Linked DNA regions of Homo sapiens: region 1 is linked to region 2. The links are contacts of gene promoters, found by promoter capture Hi-C in blood cells and fetal thymus (Javierre and others, 2016). All regions are on one chromosome and are shown on one strand. Each heading gives the region's core, a stretch centred on a gene start or on the middle of the fragment in contact. The rest is flanking DNA. Distances are from core to core; before and after follow the strand shown. Region 1 overlaps LOC107986047 (a long non-coding RNA gene). Region 2 holds the start of MBNL1 (muscleblind like splicing regulator 1).

The links. Contacts are between HindIII fragments. The CHiCAGO score rates a contact against its expected background, and 5 or more counts as called.
Region 1: a contact is called between a fragment that was not itself captured here and the fragment with the promoter of MBNL1 in region 2, in 1 of 17 cell types (neutrophils). The highest score is 5.6, in neutrophils.

Annotation. Positions count from the first base shown.
Region 1 is chr3:151,938,787-151,944,516 of GRCh38, forward strand. All of the region lies in intron 1 of LOC107986047 (a long non-coding RNA gene), which reads right to left. Among named protein-coding and RNA genes, the nearest start is that of AADACL2-AS1, 13 kb to the left of the region's middle. The HindIII fragment of the contact is 7,614 bases long and covers 267-5,730 here.
Region 2 is chr3:152,266,308-152,272,432 of GRCh38, forward strand. It overlaps MBNL1 (muscleblind like splicing regulator 1), which reads left to right and starts at 2,622. Exons shown (of 10, transcript NM_021038.5): 1 at 2,622-2,785. It overlaps MBNL1-AS1 (MBNL1 antisense RNA 1), which reads right to left and starts at 3,319. Exons shown (of 2, transcript NR_027038.1): 1 at 3,121-3,319; 2 at 1-2,765. RefSeq lists enhancers at 1,825-2,667, 2,110-2,209, 2,668-3,509 and silencers at 2,400-2,459, 2,510-2,559, 2,960-3,069. The HindIII fragment of the contact is 10,088 bases long and covers 1-5,483 here.

The DNA of each region.
Region 1 (5,730 bases), core at 2,824-5,323, 330 kb before region 2:
CTTTTGGCTGCAATTAAGGAAAGCTCTAACAATGGGGTTAAATTATAAGGAAATTTCTATTTTGCTTAACAATAAGTCTAAAAATGTGTTCAGTATCACAATAGTATAATCAAAGTCTTTGATTACCATAACCTTTGGACTTGATCACTTTGATGTGTTACCTTTTCACTTCCATGCTCATTGCTTCATGGTCCCAAAAGGGCTGCTGAAGTTCCAGGAATCATATCCAGCAGCAAGGCAGGAAGATGAGGTAAAGAATGTCATTAAGCTTCTCTCCTCTTACGCTACTATCTTTAGTAAAAAAAGCAAAGGTTTTTCCAGAAATCCCCAGAAACTCCCTCTTAAATTTAACTGGTCAAGACTGTATCACATGGTCACTTTTAGTAGTAACATGATTGAAAATAATATATTTGGCCCTTTCAGCTTTTATAGAGGAAAGTGGAAAGGGGCAAAGGTGTTGTTAATGGCTTTTATGTCAGCCAATCGCCAAGGTCTGCTAAATTAGAATAAGGTAAATGCCAATAGCCTGATAATAGGGTTTCGCTAATTGAAATAAGAAATAAGGAGCTCCAGTTGCACAATCGGTTAGCAAGTTGTACTTATATAAAATAAGGAATAAACAAATCTTTTCTATACAGGATGGAGGAGTTAGAAAAAGAAGCTATTAGCTTTCCTGTAGCTCCTTTGATCCCTTTTATGTCCTGTTACCACTGGGTTTGAACCAGTCTCCCTCAAATTGGTATTTTATTTTATATTTTTTGAGACAGTCTCACTCTGTCGTCCAGGCTGGAGTGCAGTGCACGATCCCGGCTCACTGCAACCTCTGCCTCCTGGGTTTCAAGCGATTCTTCTGCCTCAGCCTCCCGAGTGGCTGGGATTACAGGTGTGTGCCACCATGCCTGGCTAACTTTTTTATTTTTAGTAGAGACGGGGTTTCACCACGTTGGCCAGGCTAGTCTCAAACCCCTGACCTCAAGTGATCAGCAGCCTCCATTTCCCAAAGTGCTGGGATTACAGGAGCGAGCCACCATGCCCAGCCTAATTAGTATTTTAATAATAGATTATACCTCAAAATAATTATTTTATACAAAACAGTAATGTGAATGAGCAAAATACAAATATATAAAACAGCATAAATGAATCTCATATTCTTGAGTAGGAAAGAAAGACACAAACAAGTACATGTTATGATTTTATTTACATAAAGTTCAAAGGCAGGAAAAATTAATGTGGTAATAAAAGTCAGACAGCAGCTTTTTTTGTGGAGACAGAGTGTGACTGGAAGAGGATATGAGGGAGACTTCTAAGATACAGTATTATTCTGTCTCTGGATATGGGTCCTGGGTTTTTTTTGTTTTGTTAAGATCTGTTAAGCTATACATCAATGGTCTTTGCATATGTATATGTGCATATACAATATTTCAATATAATTAAAACAAACAAAAATGTAATAAGAGAATCACTTGCTTTGATTTATTATGGCTGAGTACCACTAAAATAATAAGATTTGGAAATTTTAATATTTAGGTATTTGGGGACCTATCTCCATATATTGCCTGTATAAGATGAAAGCTAGTTATCTCTCAAATCTGATGGATTGATTTCATCTCAATTGGTTGTTCAAGGTGAATTATTTGGATGAAATAAAAATAAATCAATAAATACACACACATACGTTCACATGTATATGGATGTCTGTTTAGGAATTGTTAAAGTTCTGCTCTAAATATTTTTCGTTCCCACAGAATATTCACAGAAAACTTGATCCAGTTGAGGTTGCAAGTTTTAAACTTTAGCTCCAAGAGGCCCGCAAACATACTTTCTTGTATAAATTTCTGTGCATAGTAGTAGTATCTTCTACAGAAGGAATGGTGTTTTCTGCCAAGTTGAATTAAGTGCACAGAGCATGACTTTTCAGGGAACACTGTAACTATTGTATTACATGGTGAAAACACTGCTACTTATATTTTCACTGCAAAAATACAGTAGTCTTCAAATATATTCATGACTTACATAGAAAAGGGCTAGAATTCAGTAGCCCTAGCCAGTGTCAAAGTTCATTTTATACCATTTTATGAAAAATAGTAATTAATTTAAATCTCCAGATAAATGTGCCTATTTATATGTAGACATGACCTAGCAAGGAAAACTATATAACACAAGATGTATGATAGCAAGGAAGCAAGTCTTCTAAAAACTGGGTCTGATTCTGTAATCCACACAGAATCTTGTATGAATTAACTATCCAGGAAGGAAAACTAAGAGCTACATTCTAGTTTTCAAAGATAGAAAAAAGTCTTAGGAATCATGGGGAAGAAGAAACTGCTGAGATGTGAAATACAGTGGGTTAAAGAGTATTCTGTAAAAGACAATGTGGTAGAAGATAAATAAGCAGATTTATAATTTGTTCCTATGAACCTTCTCTACTTGCAACTTGCTAAAAGTCATGTTTTAATTAACTGGACAGGGATCCCTTTCTTCTCAGCATAGCTCCAAATATGTCCTTGGCATATTTAAAACTGCATAAAATAAGCAATAATGCCCTGACAATTCTGGCTTCAAAAACTGGCCATTTTATCCCTGAGTAGTTTTCCTGAAATGAAGGGCCAGCACTCTCAAGGCAGGCTTTTGACTCCTGTACCAAACTATAATTCACTTCTAACCTATAAACCCAGATAGAGAGTAGTGGAATGAAGGAGAGCTTTCTAATATCATATAAATCTATAAAATAGAGAGTCTTTGGTAGGAGCAAATACACATCATAAAATTATGTCCTCTACCTTTAGCAGCTGGGAAACATTACACACTACCACAATTCAATGGTGCCCTTTTAATTGCACATGCTTAAACAAAATACCGCATTATAATTACATTTGGCATTTCAAAGAGTCAAGAGTTCAAAACTGGAATGTGTTAGAATGAGAAAAATTATAACCAAATATCCCACATCAGGATGCAGCTTTTTGGACAAGCACAGTAATTCAGTTTCGGTATTTCATAAAAAGTGGTTTATTTCACTTTGCAATTTTCCATTTATTAGAAAATATCATTCATACAAAACAATATATAAATGCATATATTGACTTAAATAATTTTAGTAAATGATGCACCTATGTGTCCACTGCTGAGGTTAAGAAATAGAGACTGGCCAGTTTTTTCCAAATCCTCTATACATCTTCCCAATTATATCACCTTCCCATCCTACAAACAGAGGTTTTCGTCATTTTGACTTTTATAATAATCATCCCACGTTCTTTCGGCTTTAAATGATTTTACCACTTATGGATATATTTCTCCTATTTTTGAACCTTATGAATATGAATTCCTACACTATAATGTCTATGTCTTACTTATTTCATTCAATATGAGGTTTGGGTAGATTCACTGGGCAAAGCTCACATGTAACTGTCTCTCATTCAGTTTCCCTGCTGAACAGTGTTCCACCTTAAAACCAGTCTACAATGTATTTTCCATTCTACCATTGTCGGACATTTTGGTTATTTCCTGTAATATGTTATTAATTTTTATACATTTATTCCAGGAGTGAAATCCTTAGATCATATATTATGAGCATATTCAAACTTCCTATGAAATGTTGATCTATTTTTTAAATGTTTGGGCCAATTTATACATCATACCACCAATATTCATAAGTTCCTGTTGCTCCACATATATGCCAACATGACAGTGTCAGATTTAGTTTTTCACCTAAAGATTGGGTAAGACATGGTAACTCTTGTGGTTCTAACTTGCTTTTTTATTGCTAGTGAAGTTAGGCATCTTCTCATATTCCATAGTTTGAATGTAAGTGAGTAGAGTACAATGAGATATTTTGAGAGAGAGAAAGAGACCACATTCACCTAACTTGTATTACAGCATAACATTTAATTATTCTATTTTATTATTAGTTATTGTTGTGAATATATTACCCTGCCTACTTTGTAAATTAAACTTTATCATAGGTATGTATTTATGGGAGGGAAACATAGTGTGTACACACACACACACACACACACACACACACGGTTTAGTAGCATCCTCAGTTTCAGTCGTCCACTAGGGATCTTGGAACATATCCCCTGAGGATAAGGGGGAGACCACTGTATTGAGAATTTTGTGTTTCTTTTGAATTGTTAAACATGTTAGTCTTTGTCTTGCTTTTTTGTTCTGGATACTTCTTTTTTAGGAACTTTTAAGTATAAAATCAGCTTCTTTAATAGACAGAGGACTAGTTGAGTTGCCTATTTATCTTGAAATTCTCTGTTATTATTCTTTTGATATCTTTGGATTTTGTAACGAAATCCTCTCTCTCTTTCCTAGTATTGGTAATTTACATCCTCTATTTTTTTCTTTGTTAATCATTGTAGATATTTATTAAGTTTATTGGTCTTGCTTTTTTTTTTTTTAAAGCACAATTTAAAAAATTTGTTCATTGGCCAGGCGCGGTGGCTCACGCCTGTAATCCCAGCACTTTGGGAGGCGGAGGTGGACAGATCACGAGGTCAGGAGATCGAGACCATCCTGGCTAACACGGTGAAACCCCGTCTCTACTAAAAATACAAAAAATTAGCCAGGCGTGGTGGCGCCGCCTGTAGTCCCAGCTACTCAGGAAGCTGAGGCAGGAGAATGGCGTGAACCCTGGAGGCGGAGCTTGCAGTGAGTTGAGGCCTGGCCACTGCTCTCCAGCCTGGGGGACAGAGAGAGACTCCGTCTCAAAAAAAAAAAAAAAAAAAAAAGAAAAGAAAAGAAAAAGAAAAATTTGTTTATTGTTTTCTGTTTTCAATTTTAACAATTTCTGTTCTTATATGTATTACAAGATGCATTGCTTAACGACAGGGATATGCTCTGAGAAATGCATTGTTAGGCAATTTTGTTGTACAAACATCAGAGTGTATTTACACAAACCTAGATGGTATGACCTCCTGCACATCTGATATAGCACTAGGCTATATGGTATGCCTATTGCTGCTAGGCTACAAACCTATACAGTATGTTGCTCTACTGAATACTGCAGGCAACCACAACAGAATGGCACTTGTGTATCTATGTTTAGATACACAGATATAGCAAAGTTCATGCAATGCACTGGGACCTACAATGTCAACTAGGTGATAGGAATTTTCCTGCTCCATTATAATCTTTTGGGACTACTGTCGTACATGCAGTCCATCATTGACCAAAATACTGTTGTGACACATAACTGTATTTTCTTCTGCTTCTTATTTTACTATTGTTTTTATAGTTTCTTATACCGGAAATTGAGATTACAGAGACTTTCCTCCTTTTATAATGTATGTATTTACTGTTACACATCTTCCCTTTGTGCATTGCTTTAACTAAATTTGACTTAATTTGTTATGTTGCATTTTCATTCAAAATGTGTTCTAATTTCTCTTGAAACATTTTCTTTGACTCATATTATTTTGAATCATGAGCTTTAATTTTCAAATATTTGAAGGTTTTGTTTTTTTCTTTTGTTATTTATTTCTAGTATAATTCCATTATGGTCAGAGAACATACTTTGTGTGATTTCAATTATGTTTGTTAATGTGTGACTATGAGCCAGAATATCATCTATCTTGATGAATATTCCATGTGTCCCTCAAAATAATGTGTATTTTGCTATCTTTGGATAGAATTCTATAAAAATCAAGTAGATAAAGTTGGTTGATGGCATTGTTTTGTTCTTCTATATCCTTGCTAACTCTGTTAACTAGTCCTTTCTGTTAC
Region 2 (6,125 bases), core at 1,372-3,871:
TGTATTCTGTCATGGAGTAAAAAACATGTCTCATCTCAGTTTCCATTTCTCTTTTGCTCCCAGAAGTCCCCCCTCCTCCAGTGTTGAAGTAGAAATATAATTTCCCCTTTTGCACCATAAGCAGGTTCAAAAGTCCTGTGTTTCACCATGTTGCTCCAAACAGCAAATTTTCTAACCCACATGAAAAAAGAACACTACAGTTCTAACTTGGAATTCTACAAGGGTTTGAGAACAATTGAAAATAAATTTCTACCACTAGGATTAGTCCTTAGTGGTTCGCAGGCATTCTAAGCAGAGGGGCATGGAAGCTAGCTAGGGCACCAACCTGCTAGCAGATGCAAAGTTTGCTCTACTAAGAAGTTAGGCCTTTAATATCACAGACAATGGGAGGCAAAATGAAGACATAAAAAGGCAAGTAGCAAGCAATTCAGTAGGCTAAGCCAGGGATTTGAGAGTCTCCCAAGGCTCCTCCCTTCCTCATTCCCTGCATGAGTCATTTTTCCAGTCTGTCCACACCCATTCACCCCTCCATCCCACACTCTCATTCACCCTCCAAGCTGCCGTCACAGGAACTTTCTGCAATACAAGTCCAGACTCCATCTCTGGCCCTTGCTGCCTAAACTTTCCTAGTTCATTAGTTTTGGCAGTAAAGTTGAGACTCGTTAGATCAACACAGACCTACTTTTAGTGTCATCTCCTGCCACTCTCCTGTACTACCCTACCCTCGCTTCTCACAGAAAGGCTGAGAAGGCTGGCAGACCCCTTGTATATACCCTGCTCCTTTCGTTTTCTTTGAGACAGGGTCTTTTAATGTCACCCAGGCTGGTCTCAAACTCCTGGCCTCAATCCTCCCTCCATGGCCTCCCAAAGTGCTGGGATTACAGGTGTGAGCCATGCCATCCAGCCTGCCCTGCTCTTTTCTCTTCTCCACCTGGACTCTACTCCCTTTTGATCTTGCCAACTTCTACACACCTTTCAAGGCACCAGTTAAATGTAAATCCTCCAGGAACCCTTCCTTTGCCATCCTCAGAGCCCTCATTGGATTGCTTCCCACATACAGCACTTATCCCTTATGCAGAATTAATCGGTTTGTCTCTCACCTACTAGAGGCGTTATCCTTGAGTGTAGGGACTGTCTTATCCATTCTTGCATCACTGGCATAGTAGGCACTAAATGTAGTTGCTGAATGCTTAATAAGAGGAATGGAAGTCTTCGTAGCTTGGGGTAGATACTAATGGGCAGATAGAAAGTTCCCATCCCTGTTCTCTGAGAAAGTGTCAGTGTTCTTTTAGTTTGCTTAAACTGTGTGGGTACTTGAGTCCTTTTAAACGATTAACGCTGGGAAGAGGCACCATTTAATTAATTAATTTGTTCTGGAAGGGATCAGTGTACAATTTTAACTCAGTGCTTTGTGGATCTAGCTAAAGGTCAAGAACTAAAGTCGGCTATTAGTGCCTCTGGAAGATATTTCTGCACTTTAGCACCTTTCTGATGTTTTTCCTTCACCTCGAGCTGGCCTCACTCTCTTCAACAAAACCGAACCTGCAGGAAGAATGTTGTACCATATCCAGCATTTTTGTCCCAACAAACATGGGACAAACGTTTTTCACTAGAATCATCCTTGAACAAGTTATCCGAATTCCTTACATTCAAAGGAAATCCTGCCCCCAGTCTCCAAAACTTCATCACATCACAGACGTTCAGGATTCTTTCCATTCAAAGCAAAGCCAAGTTACATCTTATAGCACCCAGTGAATTATGATATGGGGCTGCGGTTTATTTGCTCTGGCGACAATATGGCTTACTTGCCGTGGAATATCCCGGTATTTCAGAAGTAACATATTATTTTTAAAGAGGGAGCTTTGCTTTCTCTAAATCACATGGTGCAAAGTTGGGAATACAGTGGCCTGTAAATTACAAATATTATTTACAAACTAGAAGGAAAGCTGACATGTGTTTGTGCCTGTGTGACAGTTTCACTAAGGAATTCCAAAACTGTGGATAGCCTGTTACTTGAGAAAAATACACGGTGGCAGTCTTGCAGATGTTTTTCCCGCCTGTTAGCCCTCCAGGTTCAAAAACTGTTTGGTGCATTTTAAGGCGGCAGTCTCACCAGATCGCAGGATTCTAGTCTAATTGGCTTCTAACCTTCAATCTAACCTTGCCGGCTTCCTTGCAAAGCCCGGTGCAAGGGCCTCTTTCAAAATGAACCCACTGGTGTGCCTAGCAGTCGGTAGAAGAAGCGGGAGGGCGTCCGGTCTGCACGCCCGCCGCGAGGTTACAATGCTGAACGCATGAGATGGAAGATACCAACGGGAGGCCGAGGGGATCCACGGCGCCCGCGCGGGCTCCGGCTTCCTCCTGCTCTCGGCGCCGCTGGGCGACCGCCCATGACCCGCTCTTGCGGGCTCTGTCCGGTTGACAGGCGACCCTGTGGCCCGGGGAAGCGCGGGAGGGCGCCGGCGGAAAGTTGAAGAGCGTTTTTCTCGCCGCCGCGTGCATTAGGAGCTCGACGAGTCCGCCCTGGGCTTCCTGGTGGGGCTGGGCGGGCGGGGGAGGGGCCGCGCAGCAGCAGCGGAAGCCAGACCTCGGCGATAAGAGGCTGCACAGCGACATGCAACAGTCTTTTCACTGCAGCTGAATGAGTTGTGGCGCCCACAATGCTCCCATGACAAGGAGCTGACAAGTTCCATTTTCCGTCGCGGGCATCTTGGAATCATGACTCCCACAATGCCTTGGGCACTTGGTCGACAGTGGGGCCGCCTCTGAAAAAAAAATGTGAGAGGTAAGTTTCCATTTTCACAGTTTCCCCGCGCCGCTTCATTGTTCGGACTCCGGCGGGTCTGCCCGTGGCTGAAGGAGGAAGTGCGAGGAGGTGCTCGCCGGCCGCGGTTCTCCCGGGCAGGGGCGGGCCGCTCGCGGTAGTTGGTTTCGCGTCCCTCAGCACCTCCTGCCCGGGGGAAGGCGGGAGGGTGAGCCGCAGCCGCTCCTGCGCCCTTCCCTGCCGCGGGCTCTGCGGACGCTGTCACGGCACAGCCCGCGCACGGCTTGGCAGCCCAGCGGGACCCAGGGAGAAACAGGGGGGCGAGAAGAGAAACAGGTGCGTGCAAGTGTACTCACAACTTAATGACCTTTGTCGGGGGAAGGTGTGAGTCCCTCTGAGTCGAGCGGCGCGCGGGTCTTCCCGGCGGCTCCCGCATCCCTGGCCCCGGGGCTGCCATCCCGCCCGGTTTTCATCTGGGCCAAATATGTGCACGCAAAGGTTAATTCTCTGCTTGCTACCCATAAATTACGCATGACATGTTTAGCTGGGCTGCCTTATATGGAGAGTGCTGTATTTCAGGCCAGTTTGCCTTTTGCCAAGTTTACAGGGCGGAAGACGCCCTGTAGGAGAGGGCTGCCTCCTCCTTTTCTTCTTCTTCTTTTTTTTTTCATCGTTTTGTAGTGCGTCACTCAAAAACTGTAAGAAAAGTAAGTATAGAAGCTCTTTGGGTGGAGCCGCAGTTGGTTGAATTGCTTTCATGAAAGGTTGAAAAGAATGAAAAGTAGTTAGTACTTGGGTTCTGGTTTTTAGACAAAAGCAGGACAAATATGTAGCCACCCCCCAACTTTTTTTTTTTTTTTTAAACGGAGCCGGAATCTGTTATTGGTAGTAATGTGTCATGTGAGAATACTTTGATTCCAGAGCCTGTAACACGAGCAGGTATATGGTGGCGCTTATGCCTTCCCCTCGCACAGCACTTTACAACTACAGGGGTGTTGCTGCCAGAGTAATATTGTATTCTTAAGGCTCTCTGGGGCCGGGAGAGTATGCGGCTGTTGGGATTCTGGGGTGTATTTCCGTGGAGTATGTCTCCCCAGGATTAAAGTTAAGAAGCTGCCGGAAAGGTTGTTGCCGCTGACTTCACTTTGTGTGCCCACCAGCACAGGCACAAGTCATAGCAGATGGATGGCAAACTCTGCCATATACTCTGAGGAGTTTCTTAAATTAATACGCTAGGAGAGAAGTCATAATTAATGCTTTTAGACTTTCGAGCCCTCTGCAGCGTGCTTTGAAATACTACACCGGTGGACACTATGTCCCTTCCTCCTGGGTTTGAACACAGTGTCTGTTTATACACAGAGGGTGTTTAGTACCTAAGTATTCTATACCAGCACAAGAGAGCCACTCCACAGTTATCTCTCTGTGTGGATTCCTAAGTGTGTTGGTGTTTCTCCTTGCTGTTGAGATAAAATATTATCACCCAGAGAGAAAATGAAAGTTCAACGACTGTAAAATTTATCCCAGGAATGTGCAGTTCAATACTTAGAATGTCTTAGATGTAGTTATAGATAGAGGCACTGAATAAGTTATTTTGTAGCCTGAGAATGCACATCGCTGTCACTTGTATCTTGCTTTCTTAAAGTTGGTGACAACTAAGGCTAAACTTCTTTAGAAAACCTAATGTTCTAGTTTTTATCTGTTTTGTGTATTTGCATGGGAGTTACTTTATTATTATTATTATATTGTTAGGTCTTCTTTGAAAATGTAGGCATAGCTTTTTTAGTCTTATTTGTTTAATGGGGGGTTTCCTTGCTGAAGACTACAAAAGTTGCCTTTTGTGTTTTAAGGAACAGGTTGGGTCAGCAACAGAAAACCTGTTCATCTATAATTATAGTGTCACTTAAGACATAATAATCAGATTTCATTATTACTAAGAGACTCAGAAAAACCTCACATATGCCTAGTTTAATTTTTTTCCTTATGTAACTGTGAACAAATTTGTGTGTAGATACACATCAAGTGTGGTACTCTGCGCAGTCATGCCAAAGAGAAACTGAAGTGTTATATGGTTTGAGATATTATTGCTTGTGTTTACATTTCCACATTTGAGGCAAAGTTAGACTCCAAGTTGAATTCATTAAATTTTGATTCCAACATTCTGTTCTTCCTTTGGGCACAGAATTCCTATGAAATGAAACACTGGGTTTTGTTCCAGAACAAGAACAGACTAACCCAAAATTTCTCCTGGGGGAAAAAAAAAGAGTAAAATTATATTTCTCATTGAAAATTGTATTTCTCATTGAGGAAGGGTGTGTTACTTTATTATATAAAATGCCTTATCTTCATTATAAGAAAAAAATGCCCTTGCATTTGTCACTGTTGCCATACATTAGGCCTGTATTTGATAGATCTATATGGAAACAGAGAATAAATAATCTTGCTGCACCTTCTGGCTTTCTGCTTGGTGATAGATGTGCGGATTAGAGAACATCTCAGGTCTTGGTTAGGAGAAGCTGAAAAGAATAGGTGATTGGGTTTTTAAAATTCTGTATGCAAAGGCATTAGGGTGGGTAGTAGATATGAGAGTCAAAAGAGTGGAGGAAAGAAGTGAAATAGGTTCACGAAGTGATTGGCCCAAAATAAAATCCCATCAACCATATGGATCATAGAGAATGTGACATAGAAAGATTTTAAAGTGTATGGTTTTTTTAGGCCAAAAAGCTTCATATGTTTGGAAATCTAGAATGTGCTGTCCAGTACAGTAGCCACATGTGGCTGTTGAGCACTTGAAATGTGTCTTGTCCAGATTGAGAAGTGTAAAATACTACCGGTTTTGAAAACTTTATATGAGGGGAAGAAAGTAAAACATCTGATTAATATTTTTATATTTATGATATGTTTTAATGATAATTTTTGATATATTGGTTCTAATAGAAGATCTTACTAGATTAACTTCACCTGTTTCTTTTCTCTCTCTCTCTCTCTCTCTCTCTCTCTCTTTCATGGTGTCTAGAAAATATAACAAATGTGGCTAACATCGTATTTATTTTGGACAGTGTTGTTCTAGGATAAAGCAGGAAAACAATATTCTGGGAGAAAGCTTAAAGATTTTGCTGGTCAAAACAATAAAATTGGCTTATTTTATTATACATAGAAATACCTCGTCTTTCTTATCCATTGTAACCAAAATTTGAGAAAACACACCACCTAACATCTATTTTTATTTCCTCAAAGCTGCTATTTAGTTTAGAGATTTGATGGTGAGGTAGTAATAATAGAGAAAAACTTATAATTAGAGAATGAGTCTTAACACCTCTCAAAGGCCAAAATAGAGTATGATTGTTACTTAGGAACATTTTAG